Linked DNA regions of Homo sapiens: regions 2 and 3 are each linked to region 1. Evidence: promoter capture Hi-C in human tissues and cell types (Jung and others, 2019). All regions are on one chromosome and are shown on one strand. Each heading gives the region's core, a stretch centred on a gene start or on the middle of the fragment in contact. The rest is flanking DNA. Distances are from core to core; before and after follow the strand shown. Region 1 holds the start of IL12A (interleukin 12A). Region 2 holds the start of IQCJ-SCHIP1-AS1 (IQCJ-SCHIP1 readthrough antisense RNA 1). Region 3 overlaps IQCJ-SCHIP1 (IQCJ-SCHIP1 readthrough).

Evidence for each region. Contacts are between HindIII fragments. The study calls those that stand out against the background at their distance.
Region 2: a contact is called between a fragment that was not itself captured here and the fragment with the promoter of IL12A in region 1, in 1 of the 25 tissues and cell types used here (heart right ventricle).
Region 3: a fragment that was not itself captured here is called in contact with the fragment with the promoter of IL12A in region 1 in 1 of the 25 tissues and cell types used here (hippocampus).

What each region holds. Positions count from the first base shown.
Region 1 is chr3:159,985,268-159,990,088 of GRCh38, reverse strand. It overlaps IL12A (interleukin 12A), which reads right to left and starts at 1,254. Exons shown (of 7, transcript NM_001397992.1): 1 at 915-1,254. The coding sequence starts at 930. IL12A-AS1 (IL12A antisense RNA 1) reads left to right here. Exons shown (of 10, transcript NR_108088.1): 9 at 796-992. RefSeq lists enhancers at 994-1,043, 543-1,043, 1,044-1,544, 2,396-3,595 and silencers at 1,164-1,213, 1,284-1,483. The HindIII fragment of the contact is 7,471 bases long and covers 1-4,821 here.
Region 2 is chr3:159,764,815-159,769,635 of GRCh38, reverse strand. The region is part of intron 4 of IQCJ-SCHIP1 (IQCJ-SCHIP1 readthrough); the gene reads right to left. It overlaps SCHIP1 (schwannomin interacting protein 1), which reads right to left. Exons shown (of 8, transcript NM_014575.4): 2 at 4,498-4,821. It overlaps IQCJ-SCHIP1-AS1 (IQCJ-SCHIP1 readthrough antisense RNA 1), which reads left to right and starts at 1,024. Exons shown (of 3, transcript NR_121669.1): 1 at 1,024-1,062; 2 at 1,137-1,332; 3 at 3,893-4,254. The HindIII fragment of the contact is 9,433 bases long and covers 1-4,821 here.
Region 3 is chr3:159,848,755-159,853,575 of GRCh38, reverse strand. All of the region lies in intron 4 of IQCJ-SCHIP1 (IQCJ-SCHIP1 readthrough), which reads right to left. The region is part of intron 2 of SCHIP1 (schwannomin interacting protein 1); the gene reads right to left. All of the region lies in intron 2 of LOC124906299 (a long non-coding RNA gene), which reads left to right. Among named protein-coding and RNA genes, the nearest start is that of IQCJ-SCHIP1-AS1, 83 kb to the right of the region's middle. RefSeq lists a silencer at 402-696. The HindIII fragment of the contact is 4,469 bases long and covers 279-4,747 here.

The DNA.
Region 1 (4,821 bases), core at 5-2,504:
TTCACCCATCCATTCATGCTTGGCACCCACCTCCCTCAACCCATTTCCAACACTTTTCCTTCAACACCTGAGAGATGACTCGAGTTATTACAAAGCGCCACTCTATTCTAGGGCTAGAAGCCAGCTCCCTGTGAGGGTCTAGAGATGAGCTTGGACAAGGGTGTTGAACCCAACACTCACCCAGAGAAAGCCTACATGTTTTTGATCAGGGAAACCCAGACCAGGTGGTGAAGTGGCTGAGTCAGACTTGGGACCCAGTGTTTTAAAAACAGTGGAGTGAGAAAGCCTGACTTTTTTTGTTTTTTTAAGACGGAGTCTCACTCTGTGGCCCAGACTGGAGTGCAGTGGCACGATTTTGGCTCACTGCAACCTCCACCTCCGAGTTCAAGCAATTTTCCCTGCCTTAGACTCCCGAGTAGATGGGATTACAGGCACCCACCACCACACTCGGCTAATTTGTGTATTTGTTAGTAGAGACGGGGTTTCACCATGTTGGTCAGGCTGGTCTTGAACTCCTGACCTCAGGAGATCTGTCCGCCTTGGCCTCCCAAAGTGCTGGGATTACAGGCGTGAGCCATTGCACCCGGCCAAGCCTGACTTTAGAACTGGCTAGGATCTGCCTTCTGTTTGTAGCTGAGGGACCCTAGGCAGGAAAGCAGGAAATCTCCCACGCTGGGCCTCAGTTTCTCCTCTACGAAGTGGGCATAATGATAGCTCATCAGGCTGTTTCGAGATGAAAAGAGACATGCCCTATTTAGCACACGGTGAGACCCCTATTCTTATTCCTCTTTGCAGGAGACGGCTGCTGCTGTTCCAGTCTCTCCTTAGGCAGACTTGAGTTTCTACCCACTCTTCCCAAGCAGCCGCCCCTCCGCACCCGAGCGAGCCAAAGACCTGGCGGGCTGAGTACTCACTGCGCGCTGGACACATGCTGAGCCGGCACTGCAGGGACACAGGGCGAGCCGCTGGATGCAGACCTGTGGCCGCGGCAGGTGAGGGCGGTGGCTGGGAGGCTGACCCAGGGGGCCACATTTTTATAATTGTCCCGAGGCGCGGCAGGACTTTCCCGGGACTCTGGTCTCTTGCTTTCTGTCTCCTTCTGTGTCTCTCTCTACATCAGCTTCTCGGTGACACGTGCGGTGCGGCCGGCCCGCGGGGCTTGCGGCGCTTTCGGATTAACTCCCGGGGTGCCCGGCCGCAGCCGTTCCGGGACGGCCCCGCCGCCTCCAGCTCGGCCCAAAATGAAAGCGAAATGTTCGCAGTTACTGCGCGGGGTCCACAGGCGGGCGGGACACCCCGCCCACCACCCTGGGTCCCCGGCCTTAGCCGGACGCCCCGTGTCTAAGCTACCCCGCCCCGCAGCTGTGCAGCGCCCCCTGCCGACGTAGAGAGAGGAGTGCCTCCCACTTTGCATGTCCTGCGTAGGGATGGGCCCTAACCACGACCTCCAGCCTAGTACTGGAAGGGGTAGGCAAATCATTCACTCATCATCGTTCCTTTAGATGGCTCACTAGATGCCAGGCCGACGTTGCACCAGGTGCAGGACACCCAGGGAGAACAGGACCCTTGGGGCATTGCCACACTAAATCAGACTCAAGGCGTTTTGTTCACAGGTCTTTTCTGAAACCTGAAAAGGGATGAGAGCTGGCTGACTCTGCAATTATTACTCTTGTAGAGAATCCAGTTTAACGATAGGATGAATACACAGAGTCCTGGGAGGAAAGACCTAGAGAAAGAGCCCACGCTCAGCCGGAGCAACGGGGTCCAGGAGTCAGCAAAGGCTCCCGGGAGCAGGCAGGGGCCCCAACCTGAGTGTTAAAAACAAGCAGGCATTAGACCGCTTCCAGCGGGAGGGCACGCAGGGTCTAGCCAGGGGAAACAGGGATCAGAAGCGCAGTCATGAAGGGTTGAGGGAGGTGGGGGTCTAGGTGTCCTTGCAGGGTGTGAGGCTGGAGGGCTGGATGGGGCCATGCCATGAGGGCAGGGGATGCCATACTAAGGAGTGTACTTTCTGTGCTGAGAGTAGTGGGGAGTCTTCCTGGGTTTTAGGCGGGAGATGTGGCAGAATTTGCATGATGGGGGGATCCCTTCAGCCACAGCATGAAGGATGGATCCAGGGGTCAGGAGTAGAGCAGAGGGAAGAGTTGACAAGGTGTGGCCAAGTCCTTATTCAGTATGGAGAACACAGGGTGGGCAGGAGGGACTCTCAGAGGGCTTGTGGGCCAAGGCTTGGTAGCTCCTCAGGTGAGCGGGAGAGGAAGGCCCTGAGAATGGGGAATGGAGATTGTTCTAGCTTTACAGGGATTACTGTATAAGAGGACTGAGTTTGGAGGAGATGGTGAGAAGTTCCATTTTGGATGTGCTGGGTTTGAGGTTCCTGTGGGACTTTTTAGTTCAGTTGTTTTTCCCACAGGCATTAGTCACCCTAGGCGTGGGTAGTGGGGAGGATGTGTTTGATCTCTGACTTGGAGCTTCCAAAGGGCCTGACTACACCCAGGCCCTAGGACCTAATAACTGGAGCTGCCTTCTGGGTGGCTCATCTGCTCGAAGCTGATGAAGCACGGCTGTAGGGAGTTTTAGGTGTGTGTAAAATAAGAGAAATGGTTGATCTCTAAGGCCCCTTCTAATGCTGCTGTCTGAGAATTCCCCCACGGGATACAGAGTAATCCATTGTCAGAAACAATTGCGTTTAGCAGTTTGTCTAGAGCAAATGACAGGTGCAGAGCTGTGTTGTGGCCACAAGGGTTTAGTGTGGAGTTAAATGTACTTAAAGTCAGGATGAAGACAAGTGTATCACAACTGAGCTGTTTCTCCCCTGGAAGGGCCATCTCCTATACAAAAGTAATTTCTGTTGCTTAGATGAGCACAGGGCCACTGTTAAAAATGGATTATTGGCTACCAGACACAGTTTCTAATTTACATTTTTGTGAAATAGTTTCCTGAAGTGCTCCATGTCCTCTAGCTAAGATGAAATGAAAACCTTCTTCTAGGAATACATGATTTTTCTATAAGTGACAGTCTTAGCTCACAATCACTACTTCACAGTGTGTAGCATTGTCGTGGAGGTCTCGGCCAATGCTATAAGGAAAGAAAAAGAAATGAGAGCTTTAAACATTGGAAAAGAAAAGGTAAAACTGTCACTTTTTACAGTTGATATACAAAAAGAAAAAAAATTAATAGACTATTAGAACTAAGAAGAGAATTTAACAACATCATGCAATACACATATCAACTTAAAAAAAATCAGCCGATTTTCTTTGTATCTGCAACAATCCATCAGAAAATGTAATAAAAACAAGATGACATGCATAGAAGCAGCCAAACTATAAAGTAACTGACTGTAGATACAGAGGCAGTATAATGGCTAAGAGTATGGACTAAACTATGTTAATCCAGGTTCTGCTACTTACTTGCTGTGTGTTCTTAGGTGAGTTATTTATCTCTCTGGGCTCAGTTTCCTCATCTGTTAAATGATGATAATAAAAGTACCTACAGTATAGAGTTATTATGATTATTACATGAGCTTGGATAACTACAGAATAGTGTTTGGAGAAAAATTTTAAAGTTCAGTCAAGAATATAGTGTGATTTAATTAAATAATTCTATACCCTTGGGTGGAAGGTTTCTCTATATAGAAAGCTTAAGCCTCTTTTCGTTAATTCACATGCTCAATGTAATTCCAATACAAGCTACAAATAAATTTTCTCAGAAACTTAATAATAAGCCTACTCTAAAATACAGATGTAATAAAATCTATGACTAAGTTAAAAAAATTTTTTTTGAGACATGGTTTTACTGTATCACCCAGGCTGGAGTGTAGTGGTGGCACAGTCACAGCTCACTGCAGCCTTGACCTCCTGGGCTAAAGTGATCCTCCCACTTCAGCCTCCTGAGTAGCTTGGACCACAGGCAACACCATCATGTCCAGCTAATTTTTATTTTTGTATTTTGTAGAGACGGAGTCTAGTTTTGTTGCCTAGGCTGGTCTCAAACTCCTGGGCTCAAGTGATCCACCCACCTTGGCCTCCCAAAGTGCTGGGATTACAGGCGTGAGCTGCTGTTCCTGGCCTTAAGTAAAAATGCTAAGGGAATAATGAAAAGGGGGACTAACCCTATCACATATGGACATAATTTAAAGCCATAGAAATTAAAGTAGTGATCTTTGCAACAGATCAGGCATATGGACCATTGAAACAGAGTAGAGAAATTATAGATAGATTTGTATATTTGGGTATTAAGTATAAGATAATACAGATGATTCCCTGATCAATGAGGAAAACATGCAATATTTAGTAGAAAATACTCAATGGGCTGGGCATAATGGCTCACACCTGTAATCCCAGCACTTTGGGAGGTCAAGGCAGGAGAATTGCTTGAGGTCAGTAGTTCAAGGCCAGTCTGAGCAAAAACTCCCTACAAAAAATTTTTTTAAAAAGAGAAAATGTTCAGCGTATGATGAAAAATAAAACTGGACTCCAATCTAAAACAACAGAGGTGAATCCATTTGGAAGTGAATTAAAGACCAAATGTGAAAAGTAAAATTGTTACAGTAGTAGAAGAAAATATAGAGGACTGTCTTTGTCACTTATAAGTGGGAAGGACTTTTTTAAAACTTCTAAAGCTCCAAACCATAAGGCAAAATACCTATCAATTGGATTACATAAAAATGAAGATTTCTGTTTTACACATTTCCTCTATGCATGAACCAAATGAACAGACAGCTGACAGATTGAGAGAAGATATTTTTCAGTGTCTAAAACCAATATTTTCAATGTCTAAAAACAAGGAACTCTTGTAAGTCAGCAAGAAAAAGACAGAAAC
Region 2 (4,821 bases), core at 1,881-4,380, 220 kb after region 1:
TGGGATTACAGGCGCCCGCCACCATGCCCGGCTAATTTTTGTATTTTTAGTAGAGATGGGGTTTCACCACGTTGGCCAGGCTGGTCTCGAACTCCTGACCTCAGGTGATCCGCCTGCCTTGGCCTCCCAAAGTGCTGGGATTACAGGCCTGAGCCACCATGCCTGGCCAATAAAGCTATTTTTAAAGAAAAGCGTCAAAATAGGCTGAGTCTCCAGAGACAGGGAACAGGCTAGACATGGAGGAACACGTCCCATGAAGGACAGGAAGCCTCAGGGACAAACACAGAGAAAAAGATGTGTAATTATATTCCATTTAGGAGGAAGAGTACACTGAGGCAGTGCCCCCCCTCCCACCCCACTTGGCAACAGGTCCACAGAGCCTTTTGAACAGGAGCAAGAGGGCTACAGTGATGCACTAAGGTCCTGGAGAAGCAGAAGAGAGAAAGCCGACTGTTTGTGGCCCGCTCTCATAAGAGGGAAAACTGTCCAGTCCTGTGCACCAGAGTTAGAGTAGGCAAGAAGATAAGAATTTAAGAGAAACATGAACTTCTGCAAGCAGGACTCCTAATCTGACATCAAAGGCACCAACCCCAGAACCTTTCTTTACTCCATCTATGGCCCTTGAATTTATTAAGAGTGTTCACGCACAAGACGGAATACAAGCCCAGGGCAGGACTGTGAGAAGCACACTGACACCAGATGAGCAGGGGCTGCCCATGGAAGGGGCACTTCTGGGAGTAGTTCTGGTTTTTGGGTAGAGCCCCTCACCCTCTCTGCATGTTTCAAGCATTTATTTGTGCCAGGCACAATGCGAACTACTGGGGATATGGCTGTCCCAGGTGATGACATCACAGTGGAGGGCTGGACCAGGTGCTGGAGGTCTGTCTTGAGCCCCCAGCTCTGAGATGGAGCAAGGATCCAGTCACTAGAGTGTTTCCATCAGGACTCCCCAGGCCCTTCCATGCTGTGACACCAAAGATAGTTCCTGACAGCATCCAAGCTCATCATCCTCCACAGATACCAAGAGAGAGATTAGTTTTCTAAACCCATCGCAAAGTGAAGGTCAGTGCTAGGTTTTAAATCCCACCTAAACATTGTGCATTTTTAAATTTGCCTCTCAATCTTATCTGAATTAGGGATAGCTGATTGTCATCCCATTTTTGAGACCTCAGTCATCCTTCTGCGTGCATCACCACAACTAAGAGGAAGGAAAGAGCACTGGATGTGGAGTGAGGAGACATGGATTCTGTCACTACCCTGCTCTGCAGAACCCAATAGTATGTCATTGAAACAAAACAATACAAAACCCTGTCTACAAAAGAAGACTCATAAGTAAGGGGGTTTTGATGATTTCCCAGTTTACTTATGTCCTTAATTCTAAGGAAGTGCAATAAGAGACTTGTCAATAGGAAACCCTTTAAGTTTCAGGGAGGTGGGAGCTCCTTCCTTTCCTTTTATTTCAAATTATTTTAAGCATTAAAAAAGGGGGCGGGGAACTAGTCTGGTGTCACAAGAAAGAACAAAACCCTGTTCATAAGTTTCTCACTGGGTCTGAGGCAAATCACTTAACCTCTCTGGGCTTCAATTTTCTCAACTGTAAAATGGGAGTTGGATTAGGTATGGGTTGTGTTGTTGTCATAAACATTCATTCATTCATTCATTCAATATTTGAGAACCTACTCCATCCCAGGCATGTTCCAGGCAATAGGTTATAGAGTTAAAAAACAGGCAAGAACTCCCGCCTACATTTCAGAGGGACCAAAAATAGAGGACTAAATAAGATAATGTCAGATAGTGACAAGCACTAAGAAAACAATACACCAGGAGTGCTGGAGTTGGGGTGCAGTGCTGTTACTTTACTTTAGGAAGGGTGGTGGGGGACAGCTTCTCTGAGCTGGTGAGAGTTGAACTGAGTCTGGAATGATGAGAAGGAACCAGACACTTGCTTCCAAGCAGAGGTTACAGAAGGGCAAAAGCCCTGAAGTAGGAATAGGCTTACTTGGTGAAGAGAAGCTATCCCCTTTTCATTGTATACCCCATTCCTAGTGGTGTGTATTAATGCCACTTAAATATATTCATACAAGACATTTTAAAGAGGAGTAAAATATCATTGGATTTGAACAGTTCCTTCAAGGCAGGCCTTCTCTTCCACACGGCTCCTTTGTTCTTCTCCGGTTTCTGTCCTCATGGTCATAAATTCCCTTACGTACTCCAGGCAGCACTAAACAGGATTTAAATCAGTGCTTTTCAATCTTTTATAACAGCGACCCATAGTGAGAAGTAAACTTTATGTTGCAACCCACCATACATATAAAACTAAAGTTTTAAAAATTACCAACTTTACTATGACTCCCTGCAATACACTATCATACATTCTATTTTATTTCATTTTTTTAAATGCTAAGGTGATTTCATGGGAAACTTACTGTTTGAAAAACAGTATTCTAAACCAACACTGACTAGTAATTTTGTTCAAACACAAACCAAAACATGAAAAAATCCACCATTAACCTCAAATGCTACCTCCTTCTCCCTTTTTTCTGTATACATCCTTGCTTTGACACAATGAAATCTAAATTTCTCTGTGTAACTTGTAGAGGAAATGACCAGAAGGGGCATTTCCAGGAAAGCTGGAAGTGAAGGAAAGAAACCCAAATATGCAAATATGCAAACTGTTCACTAGGTGAGGATACACCATTGGTTTCAAAGACTGCCCAAGAAGGAAAGATTCATAGTCTTCACAATAACCAGAAGATGCGTTGGGGGTGGGGGTATGAGGTGGTGCTAGGTAAGCCATCAAATTTTAAGTTCCTGGAGGGAAGGCAGTCTGTATCCCTACCCTTCCCTCACCAGAATTTCAGCCCCATGTGGACTGATGTGTAACTACAGCACTCAGAACCATCCCTGGCACACAGCACATACATGGGTGCTCAAAAACAATTTGTTCCACAACTTTTGAATAATGGAGCTCATTGTCACCATCAAACCCTAACTTTGCATGTATACCCAAGTACTAAATTTTCCTGGAATGTATAAATGTCACGCAATAGCAAACTAACCTCCTGCTTATTTCCCACTCATTGTTCAAGCCCAGGTATTAATGAGGTATTTTTCTCAAGCACAAAGTGGGAAAAGGATATTTTCTATTGCAAGGTATAAGAGATAGTATTGACTGTAATGGAAAGATTCCACGTCTGTTAATGGCCATGGTAAACTCCTAAACAGCTGGAATTAAAATGAGTATGCTAATTTATTAAGTAGTTTCCCAAGGGAAACTAACCAGCAGGCTCTGTCAGCCAAGGGCGCTCTCTGATAGAACCATGGCAATTTCTCTGTGAAACACAGTTACCATCCTCACCCCTGAAGTCAGAAGTGCATGCACCCAATTTTCAGGAGCCCCGGGGTCCTGGTGTCGCAAAAATTACACCCGCAAGGCAAGCATTTTCCCACCTGCCACACAGCTGCCACACACAGAAAGCAGCTCCTTTCAACTACGCCCTTCAGCCCTAATTAGGGTCATCATTAATGATTTCAAATTACAACTGTTGCTTTATCTCAAAGCAGTGCTAAACAGGGGAGCTACCTTCATGATGGTTTTCTTTTAAGTCATTTATCTGCTCTTCTCTCAGGGGCAAAAAAGATGTTGAGACAAGTGTGAACCTGCCAGTGCTTCTTATTATAGATGCAGCCCTCCTCTCCTCCCTCCCTCTTTTCCACTCCAGCACCCCTCCCTGTCTGGCTTTCCTGAATTGAGGCAGTAGCCTCCGGGAAGAAACTGTAAGTGGCTCCGTTATCAAAACAAGGAGGGATTCACAGCAGAGGGAGTGAGTCAGGCGACCGAGGGAAGAACCCCTCCCTTATCCTGACAGGTCCATTTACCCCGTTCCCCCAGGTCAACAATAACTCGGGTTTCATAAAGGAAGAAAGTCTTAGAGGAGGAAAATCAACCCATTCAAATACAGGAGCATCTGCTTAACACAAGACGGAACGAACCCCGCTGCCAGACCGGTGGTGTGGGCAGGCGAATGTGTGCGTGTGCATAGGAACAAGCCTATATATGGATGAGACATTAGTGGCAACGAGAGGAGAGCCACCACGATTGACAAAGCCACAACTATTACGATTTGAAATATCCCCCGCAGGCACTGACTTTTGGTGCCAGAATCTCCCCGGATTTATTTTCAGGCAAGTGACTCACAACCTGGTCTCCATAAGTAATTCCATTAAAATGAGTCGCCGGTTCCACTAACCCGACTTTCCGCTGCCCTCTGGCTGCTCCTCCTTCCTCTCCGCCCATCCTGCAAACCCAGACAGCTCACAGACCGAGCAACCTTATCCCCAGGGGAGCAGACGGCAGGCTCTCTGGCCTGGCCCCCACCCTCGAGGAAGAATGAATGGGGCCGCGGGCGGGCGGGAGCGCAGGGAGGGGGCGTGCGGGCTGTGCGCGGGGTGTGTACGCGTGTGTGCGCGCGTGGGCACGCACCCCGGCCAACTTACGGAGGTGGAGTTGGTCCTCGCCTGGCCCTGGTTCCGTACCTCCTGCTCCCGGAACTGCAGCCCGGCCAGATGCTTCTCCAGCGCCTCCCAATCCATAGGTGGCACCGGGGGCTCTTCGGGGACGCACGTCCCGCCGTCTGGGGGCTGAAGGCAGAGCCCCCCAGCCGCCGGGCCGCGGCCACTGCGCCGGCCCCCAGCCGGCTGGGGCTTTTGGATCGCCCGGCGGGGGCCCCGGGAACAGCTCGGCCGGCCAGCCACCACCACGTTGCCATTGTGCCTGAGGTCCTGGGGGTCGTGCTGGTGGAGGTTGCCGTTGGGCACCGG
Region 3 (4,821 bases), core at 1,264-3,763, 140 kb after region 1:
TGACTATATTATGGCAATAGCCACTGAGTGTGGAATTTGGCCACTCCTCAAGGGTGATCTTTCTCCAGTTAGAAAAATGGTTCAATTGTTTATAAACAAAAGAGCTCTCCCCCCTTACCTTTTTATAATTCCCCTCCATATCCAATGAGGATTCTTGACTGATGATGTCATCCATTCCATCACTGTCCAAATTCATCCTTTAACTCTTTAGAATTTCACTTAAGAAATAACCTCCCATGAATTCTGATAGGCTGATGTGCCAATTGCCCAGTTCCCTGGTTACTGCTCATACTGACATGGAGAGCTGGCTAAGAGGCTGTGCCCGGCCGTGTGTGTTCTTGCCCCACTCTGTCCCACAGACACTGCCCCGCCCAGCCTCCCTGGCCTTTCCTTGCTCTGGCACCGGGCAGCTGCTGTTTTCTGAGGCTCACTCTGCCCCTGACACTTGGCTTGCTGACTCCGGCCTTCCCACCATCTGCTGTCACCTTCCCCTGAATGATCCCGCCCCAATTCCTCTCCACAGCACCTTTCCTGTTCCCAAGAAAGGAAAAGAGAGGCACTCAGCTTCAGCCAGCTGATTCAACTCCGCGTTCAGGGCCGAGTGTGGACTGGAGCTCTGTGAGGAAACTAGCAATCTGAACCAGGGGTAGATTGTGTGGGATAAAAATAGATGTGAAAACTTCCAGCCCAGCCGACTTCACTACTGAGTTAAAAGCTGGGTATCCCATGACAAAACGGAAACAGTATAATTTAAAGGCTGACCTGTAACACAGATGTTTGCTTTTTTCCCCCTTTAACTGATCATTTCTTAAAATCTCATGTAAAAGTCTCATCTGGTAGGAGCTCCAGGACGAGACTGAAATTCACTTCCAACACAGAGAAGGACCCTTCTGCCCTGGGAGCAGTGCTTTGTTCTATTAATATAGGCAACAGAAAAAGATCCATCAACTTTTCTTTAAAATTCAAGCAGTGGCGGGCTTTTTCACAAAAGCAAACGTTCTTTTCTGCTGCTCTCTTTACACTTTTCCCATGGCTTCTGGTTTTGTTTACAGGCTTTACTAAAGAGAGGGAAAAGGCCCACAGCTGGAGGATGTTTTGGTGCAAGAAGCAGACAAGCAGAAGTGCACATACAAACACACACTCATCAGAATCAGCTTACTACTGTCATAAACTAAAAATTATGCCCAGTGTTTATTTCCAAAAAATAAAGCTACTGTTTGCAGGAGAAATAGGTCAGAAAAGAATTCAAAGGGCAAGCCTTCATTTAGCAACACCATCTTACACTCTGACAAGCTTAGATAAAAAGCAGCAAGTATACTAGTCAATAAATTTTCCAATATAGATTCTTGTGCAACCACAATACTGTTAAGAACAGAGTTCTAAAAGCAAAAAGGCTATTCAAGATAACCTTTTGGCATCTGAACTGCTGCTGACATGCTCACCTTCAGTGTCTACTTATTTCTCTCCACATTTTTTAAAAATTCAATTTGTAGAAGACTTGTGGCATAAATGTGTTTCAAAGTAGTTTATAATAGCCCTACTTCTATAAAGCAAATACTTCCCTCTGTAGCCCCCAAACCAAAGTGAAATCTTCCCTTTACTCCATTCTCATTGCCCCACCTCAGTTCCAAAAAGAATTAATTGCATGTTTGTCAGATGTTACAATAACAAGTTGTCTCTCATGAACCACATTTGCATTTGGGCAGGGTTTTCCCTGGAAGAGATCTCCCTTGTCTTACTCTCCTTCAAACCCCAGGACCCTCACTCCAGATGGGGGTCCCACTGTCTGCATGCAGGCAGCCCAGAATGCTTCCCGGGGCTGTGGCAATGCTGGCCACAGACTGCTGCTCCCAGTGCCCCGTGCAGGTGCTCAAAATACAGGAGAATTCACCAAGGCTAAGACTTTGGGGTTAAAGTATGCTCTAGTTTGAAGGACCCTGTGTATGTTAAATCCTGCCAAAGGAGGTTAGTTAAAATGAAGGAAGCATGCATCTTCTTACCTGGCATATATTAACAGCTACCCTTTATTGAGGGAGGGGTTGCTATGTGCCAGGCACTTTATATGTTCCTCCTACATATGTCTTTAATCCTCTCAATAATCTTTTGGAGTAGATATTACTATCAATTGTGTTTTACAGCAAAATGAAAGAGCTCAGTGAGGTTAAGGAAGATGAATATGGGCTCTCTGCCTCTGTGGCCCACACTCTAACCATCCCACACTGGCTGCCTCTGTAAGAAATAATTGTGCTGAATAAAATAATCAAGTATAGCTTTTATTTATTTATTTAGACAGGTTCTTGCTCTGTTGCCCAGGCTGGAGTGCAATGGCATGATCATGGCTCACTGCCACCTTGACCTCCAGGCTCAAGTGATCCTCCCACCTCAGCTTTCTGAATAGCTGGGACTAGATAGTATAGGGACTATAGGAGTGCACCACTATGCCTGGATAATTTAAAAAATTTTTTGTAGGGATGGGATCTCACTATGTTGCCCAGGCTGGTCTTGAGCTCCTGGGCTCAGGTGATCTTCCTATCTTGGCCTCCAAAAGTACTGAGATTATAGATGTGAAGCACCACGCCCATCCAAGCATAGCTTTTAAAGATTAGAGTTCAACACAGACAAATCTAGTAGAGCTCCAGATATGTGGTTTGGATCTGTGTCCCCACCAAAATCTCATGTTCGATTGTAATCACCAATGTTGGAGGTAGGGCCTGGTGTGAGGTGACTGGACCATGGGGGTGGTTTCTAATGGTTTAGCACCATCCCCCTAATGCTGCTCTGGTGATAAGAGTTCTCATGAGATCTGGTTGTTTAAAAGCGTGTAGCACCTCCCCACTCTTTCCCTTCCTCCTGCTCTGGCCACGTGAAGATGTGCCTGCTTCCCCTTTGCCTTCTGTCGTAATTGTAAGTTTCCTGAGGCCTCCCCCACCATGCTTCCTGTACTGCCAGCAGAACCATGAGCCAATTAAACCTCTTTTATTTATAAATTACCCAGTCTCACGTATTTCCTTTTTTTTTTTTTTTTTTTTTTTTGAGATGGAATCTCCAGCCTGGAGTGCAGTGGCACAATCTTGGCTCACTGCAACATCTGCCTCCCAGGTTCAAGTGATTCTTCGATTTCAGCCTCTCAAGTAGCTGAGATTACAGGTGCCCGCCACCACGCCCAGCTAATTTTCGTATTTTTAGTAGAAACGGGGCTTCACCATGTTGGCTAGGATGGTCTCGAACTCCTGACCTCAGGTGATCCACCCGCCTTGGCCTCCCAAAATGCTGGGATTACAGGTGTAAGCCACCATGCCTGGCCAGGTATTTCTATATAGCAGTGTAACAATGGACTAATACAGCTCCCTGTATAACAATATCAAGAGCTGAATCAACATTTTCCAGATCATACATCTGGAACACCCAGCACGTATTGTCGCATATCTCTTCTGATGAAGCCTCAAGAAATGAAATGGAAGCTACTTCACTGATGTCAGAACCTAGTACGCTATATGATGAATTTTCCTTTCCAGTTTACCTGGTGTCTTTTAGCACCACTGTTGCTTCTTTCCAACAGCCACTGTGGTTGCAAGCTCTTTTCTAAGGGGACAGGGATTTGTCATCTTGTTTACCCCATAGCATGTAGAACACTGCCTTGCACACGATAAGCGCACAATGAAGAGCTGTTGACTAAGTACGTGAACAGAGGAAATATGAACGTGCTGCTTAAAATGTTTCCTCTAAATGCTGTCCACAGTAGGAAACATTAATAGTGCTTTTCAACTGAAATCTTCTGTGGAACTCACATATGTTCAAAAGGAAAAAAGGGTCTGCTTTGATTGAATGAGGAGGGCTACCACACCCCACCTGGATGCTCTATTCTCCTATTATCCCAGCCCCAGCACAGCCTCTCAGGAAAGCTCTGTGGAAAGGAAGCCCTAGGACCCTGCAGACCCCACTCACTCTGCAGACTACAGCTTGAAAAGCTCTAAAGACCATACAAATGGCTCTTTCACAGTAGCAGCAAAGCAGTATTCTGCTCCTGGCTCCATGACTGTACTGATTTCCAGACCTCAGTCCACTGCACTTGGGGTTCAGCTACAATATGAATTTCATTCTTATCTGGGTTAATGTCGTAGTCCACTTAGAAACCTATAATCGATAGCTAACATGGATGAAATTATAATAATTTAGAGACTGCAAGACTCCGTAAGATACATAAAATGATATGCCTGATTACTAGTATCTTTTTACTTTAATTTTAACAGAGTGGGCTTAAATATACAATTAAAATGAGAAAAACTGAACTCTCATGATTATGTATATATACATACAGATTAATATATGTGTACTAGTAATATAGTAATGATATACATACACATGTATATACACATACATTGATAATATATTATCTTTTGGAGAGAGGCACCTCAAAATTCGAGATGGAAATTTCCCAACAAAACAACAGCAACAAGGAATAGTACTGAGAATACTAAAAGACCATTCCACTCCTCTACCTGCTAGCTCCTTTTTTGTCGTAAGTGTTCTCTAATAAGCACTATACAGAGACAAGTGATAGAACATCTGCTCCTGAAACATGAATGCAAGCAGTTGAGGGCAGTTCTCAGTGGTGGTGACATCACTGTGCACCCTCCCTAAAGAAGCTCAGCACGTAGATAAGCTCATAGCCCAAACCCTTTCCAGATGGAGCTGTGCCACCGTTTTCAGGATAGCTTGTGCCAGCTTAAAATATCTGAGAGTTTCCTATTATGTGTGGCATCACTTATCTGTGAAACTTTCTAGAGTTTTGCTACTCAAAGTGTGTTCTCCAAGCAGATT